2 separate regions of the Homo sapiens genome follow, and region 1 is linked to region 2. The links are contacts of gene promoters, found by promoter capture Hi-C in human tissues and cell types (Jung and others, 2019). All regions are on one chromosome and are shown on one strand. Each heading gives the region's core, a stretch centred on a gene start or on the middle of the fragment in contact. The rest is flanking DNA. Distances are from core to core; before and after follow the strand shown.

Region 1 (5,189 bases), core at 181-2,680, 510 kb before region 2:
AGAAGAAGGCAGCTCTAAAACAACCATCATCAACCCTGCTGAAGCTGTGCCGTTTCTCTGGTTGTCTGACATCATGACATCACACCCTCTTTCTCCAGTGCCGTGGCTGCTAACATATAATGGAAAGAGCTCTGGACTTGAAGGCAAATAGGCTGGGGTTGAAAATCCTCATTCAGCCTTTCAGAAATGTGCAACTTATGCAAGCCATTTATCCTCAACTGCAAATTGGGAAAAAACACTTCCTTCTCATTGTTGCTATGTGGAACAAATACCATCACGTGTATGAAAGAATCTAGCACAGTCTTTGATACATAGTAGTACTCAATATATGCTAGTTGAGGCCGGGCACAGTGACTCATGCCTGTAATCCCAGTGCACTGGGTGGCTGAGGCAGGTGGATCACTTTGAGGTCAGCAGTTCAAGACCAGCGAGACTCTGTCTCAAAAAAAAAAAAAAGAAATGCTAGTTGAATCCTCATCACCTAAAAGGTTACTAACCAGTGTGTGTGTAACATAAAACTTATATTATTTTATAAGGGAAGCAAAGAGTTCCAATTGTTTGAGAATCTTCCAGAAATACTTATGACAGCCTTTTCTGCCCCAATACCACTCCCCCCACTGTCATACACACATTCTAACAACTGGAGGGACAATTGAAAAGGCAAAAAGAAATCAGACTAGGACTCATAGATCTAGGCCTTCCAAAGAACAGGGAGGAACAGGAGTCACAAAACAAAGAACACCTCCTCTGGAGGGACTGTTGGAAGGAAGTTCAATGAAAGAACACTGCTGACCAAAGCCACTGCTCTCCAAGAACAATCCTTCAGAGCCTCACCAAATCTGGAATCAGTGCAGAACTGGGGAAATTTCATCAGATCAACCTGGCTCCAGAATCTGACTATAGCTAACAAAGGACTCAGACTCAGAGGCCTCTTCACAAAAATGCTAATAGAGTGAGTCTAAGACACACTCAAGAGCATGAGCAAGAGGAAAGATTTTGTAGAGTTGGAATACAGGTAATTTCAAAATATTAGTGACATCACCTTCAACCCCGGTGACCCTGGATGCATATACTTTGGGTAGGTGGAATAAGGAGGCCTAGAGATTCTTTAGTCCCTCTGGGAGGCTGTTTTCCACCACCACCCTTCCAGTGTCTGTTCTTGTACGTCTGAAATGTTAAGGTTACTTTTTTTTTCTTTTTGAGACGGAGTCTCGCTCTGTCGCCCAGGCTGGAGTGCAGTGGTGCAATCTTGGCTCACTGCAAGCTCCGCTTCCCGGGTTCATGCCATTCTCCTGCCTCAGGCTCACAAGTAGTTGGGACTACAGATGCCCGCCACCACGCCCGGCTAATTTTTTGTATTTTTAGTAGAGGCAGGGTTTCACCATGTTAGCCAGGATGGTCTCGATTTCCTGACCTCGTGATCTGCCCACCTCGGCCTCCCAAAGTGCTGGGATTACAGGTGTGAGCTGCCGCGCCCGGCCCCAGGTTACTTTTAACTGCCCAATATCATATAGTCCAGCTCCCTGCCTCCCAGCAGTCACCACTAAAGTTTTGCAGAAAGACGGATGGGGAACTCTTCTGTTCTCAGAGATCACCAAAAAAGGCTATTTCTGTTTCTTTCTGCCAACTCTGCCAAGCAAGTTCATTCCTGAATTTAATATCCCTGATGCAGATTGAGCTTGGTATTGGTAAGAAGGTGGCAACTCTTTCACTATGCTCTCTCCCAAAATTAGGTAGTGCCCTCTGAGCAGTAGAACCAGCATGGCTGCCTATGTGGATCTGTCCCTACTCGCAACTGTGAGTTGCACAGGAATAATAAGAAGGAAGCTTTAATCATTCCCTGCCACACCTTCGTAGGGCACTCTCATCAGAGGGTCACCGATTCAACGGGGACCACTACCTTTTAGGTCTGCTTAGAAACTCATGTGATAGCCTCAATCATCTTAAACAATCAACTTCTTTTTCTCAGTCTCTATGTTTGGTACATCCTTTCCTCTCCCTCTAGTCCACAGACTTTTAAGTCACTGAAAGCTCCTAGAAGTACACTTTTCAAAACTTTCAAGGGAAATACAGTTCAGACATTCTCCCACATAATAGTGTCTCAGACCTCACTAGAAAATTTAGCAGATGCCTGCCCCAATTAACTACGATTGGGATTATTACTGGCACCAGGAAGGCAAATAAGGATACTATCACCTCTTTTATCTCACAGACAAAAGAAAAACTCCCAGGGCTCAGCTAAGAATCACATCACAGTATTCAGAGGATTTTGCTACTGAACAGACTCTCCCTCCCGGCAGCTTTTACTCCTCAGGGAGCTAGACAGTGTTGAGAGGTGCAGGAAAAAACAGACTCCTCTCCTATATAAGCAGCTCTACCACTAGAAACCACCAAACTGGAGCTGGGTCTCTTCCCTGGCCTCTCAGGAACCCAGGCACTGCCTGCATCTGAAGCAAGTCATATGGAGAAGAAGGTGTTGTAGGGAATAGGGTTAAATTGCTTTAGCTATTTATTATTACTATTATTTTTATTTTATTTATTTTTTTGAGACAGAGTCTTGCTCTGTTGCCCTGGCTGGAGTGGAGTGCAGTGGCGCAATGTTGGCTCACCGCAACCTCCGCCTCCCAGGTTCAAGCGATTCTCCTGCCTCAGCCTCCCAAGTAGCTGGGATTACAGACACCCGCCACCATGCCCAGCTTGCTTCATTTAGTTTTGAATGCCAAGAAAATATGCCTTTGTGGGCAGGGCATGGTGGCTCACGCCTGTAATCCCAGCACTTTGGGAGGCTGAGGAGGGCAGATCACGAGGTCAGGAGATGGAGACCATCCTGGCTAACACAGTGAAACCCCGTCTCTACTAAAAATACAAAAAATTAGCCGGGCATGGTGGTGGGCACCTGTAGTCCCAGCCACTTGGGAGGCTGAGGCAGGAGAATAGCATGAACCCAGGAGGCGGAGCTTGCAGTGAGCCGAGATCACACCACTGCACTCCAGCCTGGGCGACAGAGTGAGACTCTGTCTTAAAAAAAAAAAAAAAAAAAAGCCTTTGAGGGTAACTGTTCTAAAGAAAATGAAAGGACTGGAAAGCAAAAGAAAAGGTGAAGGAAAAAGTCCTGTATTCAACAGCCTTCCCCTTCTAAGTCAGAGGAATAAGAAAAAAGTGACGGAAGACAATCTAAATTTTTAATATTAAATGACTCCTATGGCCTTCAAGGGGGTTCAGACAACTGAGGCTCTACACTTCACACTGGGAACCTAAATTCTCCTTCCAGTCAGACTGGAAGGGAAATGGAAGAGGCCTCCCCTGTTCCACAGCCTAACAGCTGGCCCCTAGGAAAAGTTGACAACTGACTGAGTTCCACAGCTCCCAACTGGGCAAAGTAGGGAATTCTGGTCTGAGTGACAAGGAATTGTTACAGGTCACACAGAGCAGCAGCTGGAGAAGACACAGAAGATATACACATATGTTCTGTGTGACTGAGCAGTTAAAATACATGTCTGCAGAGGACTCTCTGGGGAGGAGATGCTATCGCTTAACCTAGCTCCCCATTTCTTATCACCTCAAAAGATTCCAGGCAAACAACTTTCTACTGGCCTCCATTAAAGGACTTATTGGATCAGTCTCTGCTAGGACAGAATGGTAAAGAGCCCCAAATCAATCCCCTCACCCAGTTAATCACCATTCTCTTTTTCAAAATTTTTTCCATGGACTAGATAAATATGGATTGGTTTGCACCAATTCTGATATTTTTATGTTCTTATATTTTCATAGAATGGCTTTAAGAGATCATCTGATCTAGTGCCCTGCTTCCAAGCAGGCAGGCTGGCTCAATTTTCCTCCTTTTAAAGGATCCTTTATTTCCCCACCCCTTGCCTTTTTATTTTTTTCCTTTTTCTTTCTTAAGAGACAGGCTCTTACTCTGTTGCCCAGGTTGGAGTGCAGTGGTGGAATCATGGCTCACTATACGATTTCTGGTTGGGGATGCTTCCAAGGAGGAAAGCTTCTTCCTGGCCTCAAGCTACCCTCCCGCCTAGGCCTCCCAAAGTGCTGAGATTACAAAGCATGAGCCACCACAACTAGTCTCCTCTATCCTTTTTTTATACATCTCACAGTCCTTTGAGATGGATCCACAAGAGATGGAAAAACGGGTAAGGAAACCAATATCTGACGTTCATTCTACAAGGTGAATTAAGAGAGACTGTCAAAAGTTAATGGAAAAGAAAGAAAGGTTCAAATATATTAAATATTATTTAAAGTTATACAGGTGTCCAGTAGAAGAAATAAAAATGACATAATTATATAAATGAGAGGTATATCCTCTAAAGCTAAATCCTTGTTTGTAACAATAAGTAAAGAAATAGAGGAACAAATGGCCAGGTGCAGTGGCTCATGCCTGTAATCCCAGCACTCTGGGAGGCTGAGGCGGGTGGATCACCTGAGGTCAGCACTTTGTGACCAGCCTGGCCAACATGGTGAAACCCCGTCTCTACTAAAAAATATAAAAAACTAGCCAGGCATGGTGGCGGGTGCCTGTAATCTCAGCTACTCGGGAGGCTGAGGCAGAACAATCGCTTAAACCTGGGAGGCGCAGGTTGCCGTGAGCTGAGATCGCTGTAATCCCAGCACTCTGGGAGGCCGGGGTGGGTGGATCACCTGAGGTCAGGAGTTCGTGACCAGCCTGGCCAACATGGTGAAACCCCATCTCTACCAAAAAATACAAAAACTTAGCCAGGCGTGGTGGCGGGCACCTGTAATCCCAGCTACTCGGGAGGCTGAGGCAGGAGAACTGCTTGAACCCTGAGGCAGAGGTTGCAGTGAGCCGAGATCGTGCCACTGCACTCTAGCCTGGGCGACAGAACGAGACTCCATCTCAAACAAACAAACAAAAACAACAACAAAAACAAACAAAAAAACAAAGAAATAGAGGAACAAGCATTTTATCTAAAGCTATGGTGATAACCTTCAGAACACTGAGATAATTAAGGAGGTTAACTCTGCGAGAACAGGAGTAGGGATGAACGGAAACAGGACTGCTGTTTTTCTTCATAAACTCTTTGAGTACCATTGGATTTGTTACCAAATGCATGCATTCCTTCAAAAAAAAATTTTTTTTTTTTTGAGATGGAGTCTCGCTCTGTTACCCAGGCTGGAGTGCAGTGGCGCCATCTCAGCTCACTGCAACTTCTGCC
Region 2 (4,669 bases), core at 1,545-4,044:
CTCCCTGTCTCCCTTGGCAGCAGCGCTGAGTTCCTGAGTTCCTGAGGCCACCCCGCCTCCGCACACCCCCCTACCTCTATCTCCTTCCTTCCCCGGCCTGGCAGTCGGCCCCACCCCCTCCCATCTCCCTGCCTCTGTCCAGCATTTCTCCTCGCCTTTTTTCACAAGGCGGTTCCCTTTTCCTTTGTTCTCTCCTGGTTTCTTTACAGTGTTTCCTTTCATGCTTCAGGCTTCTTCCTCATCTCCTCCCACTGCCCTGATCTGTGGTTTCCTCGCACCTCCCCTTGCTTTCCTGTTGCCTGCCATCTCTTCCTGACTCCTCCACCTCTGTCCAACCTCAGTCCCCCCACAGATCACTTGCTGAATTATTCTCCATCTCATTATGCCCCAGCCATTTTCTTGCCCCGGACCCCCTACTCACAGGTGTGGGTCTTCTTTGCAGCCAGCAGCTCTGTAAAGACAAGAGAGGGGGTTGACGTCAAAGGTTGAAGATCATGAGGGGCTGAGACACTTTCCCCACTCCTAGGATCCCACTGCCGCACTCCTTCCCTCAGAGCCTGGCGTCTGAAGGGCAGGCAGGCCACCCCCTGCAGTGCCCCTCTCTCCTCCTCTGCCCTTGGGCCACACTGGCCCTCTTCCAGGTACCCAGAAGTGTCAGGCTCCTCACTGCCTCTGGGACTCCCCCAAGCTGCTCCTTTGCCTAGAATGCCTGTCCCTCCTGTACCCCTTAATCTAGCCAACTTCTCTTTCTCCCTCAGGTCTCTGATTATGTTTCTTCCTTGGAGAAGCCACACACACCCCCTTCCCCTGCCCTTGTGCTGACACATTTAGCTCCTTGCATTTTATTTCCTGGCACTCACCATGTCACCAACTGTCACCTAACTGCTGTAATTGTGTCATTGTCTATGAAATGGGTCTTTCCTGCCAAATTGTAAAGCCCTGTGAAGGCAGGGACTGTGTTGGTCTTATTTACTTTGTAATTTCATTGGAGGTGCACAAGAAATATCCTACAGCCAGAGTTAAATCTCTGTGGGACTGAAATCTCTTGGTTGCTTATCTATGCCTGAAAACACCAGGGCTTCAGAGATGTGGGGGTTGGGAGTAGGGGGAGAGGATGTTTGGAGGAAGAGGAGGGGAGAGTTGCAAATACAGACCCCTCTCTGGCTTCCACGGGCCAGGCTTCCCTGGCCTACCAGCCTGAAGAGGAAGGCCTCCCTTCTCTGCTGCTGCTGCGTGGCCGGGTCTGGGTGGAGATTGGGCAGTAGGGAGCATGAGTGGGTCGATGGGGGTCACATGGATACTCGGACCTCCAGGGGGAGCAGCCGTTGAGGGGAGGGCCTTAGCTGGAGCATGGTTGGTGGGTGGGGGGGTGTCACCCATTCATGCAGTTAACATCTATGAAACACCTAGCCAGGGAGCCCCTGGAAAGAGGATTCCCCTGCCAGACCTTGGCCCATTTCCTACATCCACATAGCAGCTCATCACAGAACACATGGCCAGTCTTTTGTCTCAGAAAGCCCTTCAACCATGCCCTATACCCCCTATAGCTTCCCTAACCTCTGACTCTATTCTGTTATTTTTTTCCTTCTGCTGTTCAGTCTTGACACCTGACATACACACACACACACACACACACACACACACACACACACACAGTGCCCTTCTGCCCGGGAGATGCTCCCCACTGGCAGGCCGTGGTCACTAGGCTGTGTGGAGGCGAGTGGCCTGATGGCCTGGGCTCTGCTGGGGTGAGGGAGGAGAAAAGACTGCCCCGAGGTGGCAAGGCCCCACCCAGCCCCGCCCACCTCCCCTTGCTCCTGCCTGGCCCCACCCAGCTTCCTCCCTGACGTGGCACCGGCTCCTGGCCTCTAGCCTTGCACCTCAGAGCAGTCCTGTGGTGGGGGTGCTCCCCTTGCTCACCCAGGCAGCCAGTTCTTCCTCCACCAGGTGGCCCTGGAGCTTGGTGGCTCTGGCCCTCAAACTTTCCTCCTCCATGCTCACAGCTGACCAAGCCTGTGGCCCTGCGATCCTGCTCTGAGGGGGTTCCTGACTTGGACCATGGGTGGGGCCAAGGACGGCCTGACATTCTGTCCTTCCCTGCTGATGGCCCAGTGCCCCACATTCTCTGCAGAGATGAAATCCCACATCCCTGGGTGAGTGGCGAGGAAAGGACCAGGCTACGTGGTCATGGGCAGCTGACAGGGTGTGGTTCCCCCTGCCACACTCCCCAAGTCTGTCACTCCTTAAAGGACAGGTTTCTCCACTGGTGAATGAACAGAAGGTGGAGCAGCCAGCCTCCCGGCCACTGCTGTCTGGGGTCCTGGCCAGATCAAGGAAGCAGTGTCCCTGTGCCTCCTGGGGGGTAAGCCCACACCTGGGAGGGCCTGTCCACATTCTGACCCCTCGCTGGGTCTAGATCTGGCTCCCCTGACTTGGCTCTTCCCTCCCCATCTACCCTCCAACCTGTTTCTTCCTTCTCCCGCTTCTCCCTTTCTTTCCTGTTTCTCTCCTTTTGCGATTTCTTCTCCTCTGTCATCTCCCCAGCCCCTCCTCCTGTTTCTCCTCCAGTTTCACTCCCTGCCAACCCAGGGCTTTCTCCTCTGCACTCTTGTCCCTCCCTCCCCTCCTCACTTCTTGCCCAGTCTCTTGCCATTTCTGCCCTCCTCTGAACCTCCAGCAGTCTCTTCCACCTGCAGGCAGGGCCATGGGCCTCTTACCCCGTGAGGCTCGGTGCTGTCTCTGTGGGGCCCTGTCCATGGGGCAGCTCCCTTGGTGCCGTCCTGGCTGCCCTGGCTGCCCAGGAGGGCAGGGAGCAGGGCCCAGGGGAGGGAGGAGGGCGGAGGGTGGAAGGCGGGAGCACCTGGCCCTCCAGCAGGCAGGGAAAAGGAGTGGCTGGCAGAGTGTCCTGGCACCAGGAGGGGACATGAGGAGAGACCAGTGGACCAGTGCATGGAGCCTTGAGGAGAAACAGGACAGGAGAAAGGAAGGGAACTAGCATTTATTAATCACTTACTGTGTGCTGGGCCCTTTGCAGGACACTTTATGTAAATCCATGCTTTTACTTTGTGTAAATATTCACAGCACCCACCACAGGGAAACATTATTATTCCAGATTGATCAGTGAGTGGAGGGATTCTCAGAGATATTAATGATTTTGCCCAAGGACTCACACAAGAACAATAAATGGGTGAGCTATGATTTGGACCCAAGTCTTTGTGACTTTAGAATCCTGTGATTTCTACCTAAGACAGGTGACAGGCATAGGGGAGATGGAGAGGGCAGGTTTGGGGGACTGTGTCTCTTCTCTAGGATGCAGTCAGACTCCTCCCAGTGACTGTTCAGTTCCCTGAGGCCTCTGCCTGCTCGGCCCCTGCCCCTAACCCTTGCTGCTCTTGCCAGGACTCCCTGACCCCCTGATGCTTCTACGTGCTCCTCATCTGTTGGGGCAAGGGGCAGGCCTGGAGGAGTGCCTGGAGGCAGAGAAGCCATGGTGGGGAAGAGGAGAGGAGAGATGCTGCACTGGACTCATTGGGAGAAGGAGAGGCTCCCAGACCTAGTGGCCCACACTGAGGCCTGCAGTGAAGGCTCTGAAGGGGGCCAAGAGGACGAGGCTTCTGGGGATCCTGGTGCTGCTTTTCTCCTGCATGGCCTGGGCCCAGAGTTTGATTAGCTGGGCCTGACTCTCCTGGTTACCCAACAAGCAACTGGCCAGGGGCCAGGCTGCAGCAAGAGGCTCCCTGGCACCTCCTCCTGCTCTCGTTCCCAGCTGGTAAACAGCAGAGCAGGAGTCAGCCATGCCACAGCCTCGTGACTCGCCCACTCCCCCCCACCTGGTGCACGTGGCACCTGGCATGGAGAGGGCAAGCAGCTGTCCCTTCCCTCTTCTGCCGTCTCGTCTCGCCATCCTCCACTCCTGCCCAACCCTGGAGCTTCACACTCTGCTACCATCAGCACCTCTGTTCTTAGGTAGCTCCCAGAGTCTCCCCATGGCTGCAGATTGAGAGATAAAGGTAGAAGTGGAGAAGGACTTTTCAACTCCTAGGGTCATTGACAGTGGATGAGTAGTGAGAAAGAGGAGGGGAAGTTTTGGGGACCTTCTGCACTGAGTCTAAGGGTATGTGCCTATGCCTCTGAGGCTCTGATTATCCCCCGTGTTCTTTTGGTAAATGTGGGCCCACGCATCCATGTATGCATCTCTGCACAGAACAGGATGTTGGTCTGTTTGGGGGCTCTGCACCTTGGGCAGGTTTGGAGTGAGAGGTAAAGTGCTTTGCAGCTCCCTTCCCCCCCGCCCCCCCAGCACCCTCCAGCTGACAGGAGGAGCCAGCAACATGCCGGGCGTGGGAGTGCAGGGGAGATGCCGTTCTGCTCCCCTCCTCCCCAGAACTCCTCAGTTATCCCCCATCTCTCTGTCTCTCTTTGCTGGCTCCTGCCTGTCTGTGGCTCTTCTCCAGCTGTCCCCTCTCTATCTTTTCTCCTTTTTAGGCCTCTCTTCCTCTTGACTCTGGGTCTCCCAGGGGCCCTTCGTGACTACCTCTTCTACAACCCACCAATTGCAGGCACAGAGTGGAGGTCACGTAGAATGCTTGCGGATGGACACAGAGCATCCCCAGACACTGCAGGCACAGCTGACTCCCCAGTTGTGCCACTTTGTGCTACTATGTAGGGT

Evidence for each region. The method cuts DNA at HindIII sites, captures the fragments that hold promoters and counts their contacts. A contact is called where the count stands out against the background at its distance.
Region 1: a contact is called between a fragment that was not itself captured here and the fragment with the promoter of RORC in region 2, in 1 of the 25 tissues and cell types used here (lymphoblastoid cells).

What each region holds. Positions count from the first base shown.
Region 1 is chr1:151,318,852-151,324,040 of GRCh38, forward strand. The region is part of intron 1 of PI4KB (phosphatidylinositol 4-kinase beta); the gene reads right to left. Among named protein-coding and RNA genes, the nearest start is that of PI4KB, 6.0 kb to the right of the region's middle. The HindIII fragment of the contact is 7,586 bases long and covers 1-5,189 here.
Region 2 is chr1:151,829,008-151,833,676 of GRCh38, forward strand. RORC (RAR related orphan receptor C) reads right to left here and starts at 2,795. Exons shown (of 11, transcript NM_005060.4): 1 at 2,718-2,795; 2 at 422-451. The coding sequence starts at 2,757. RefSeq lists enhancers at 44-729, 1,416-2,103. The HindIII fragment of the contact is 16,173 bases long and covers 1-4,669 here.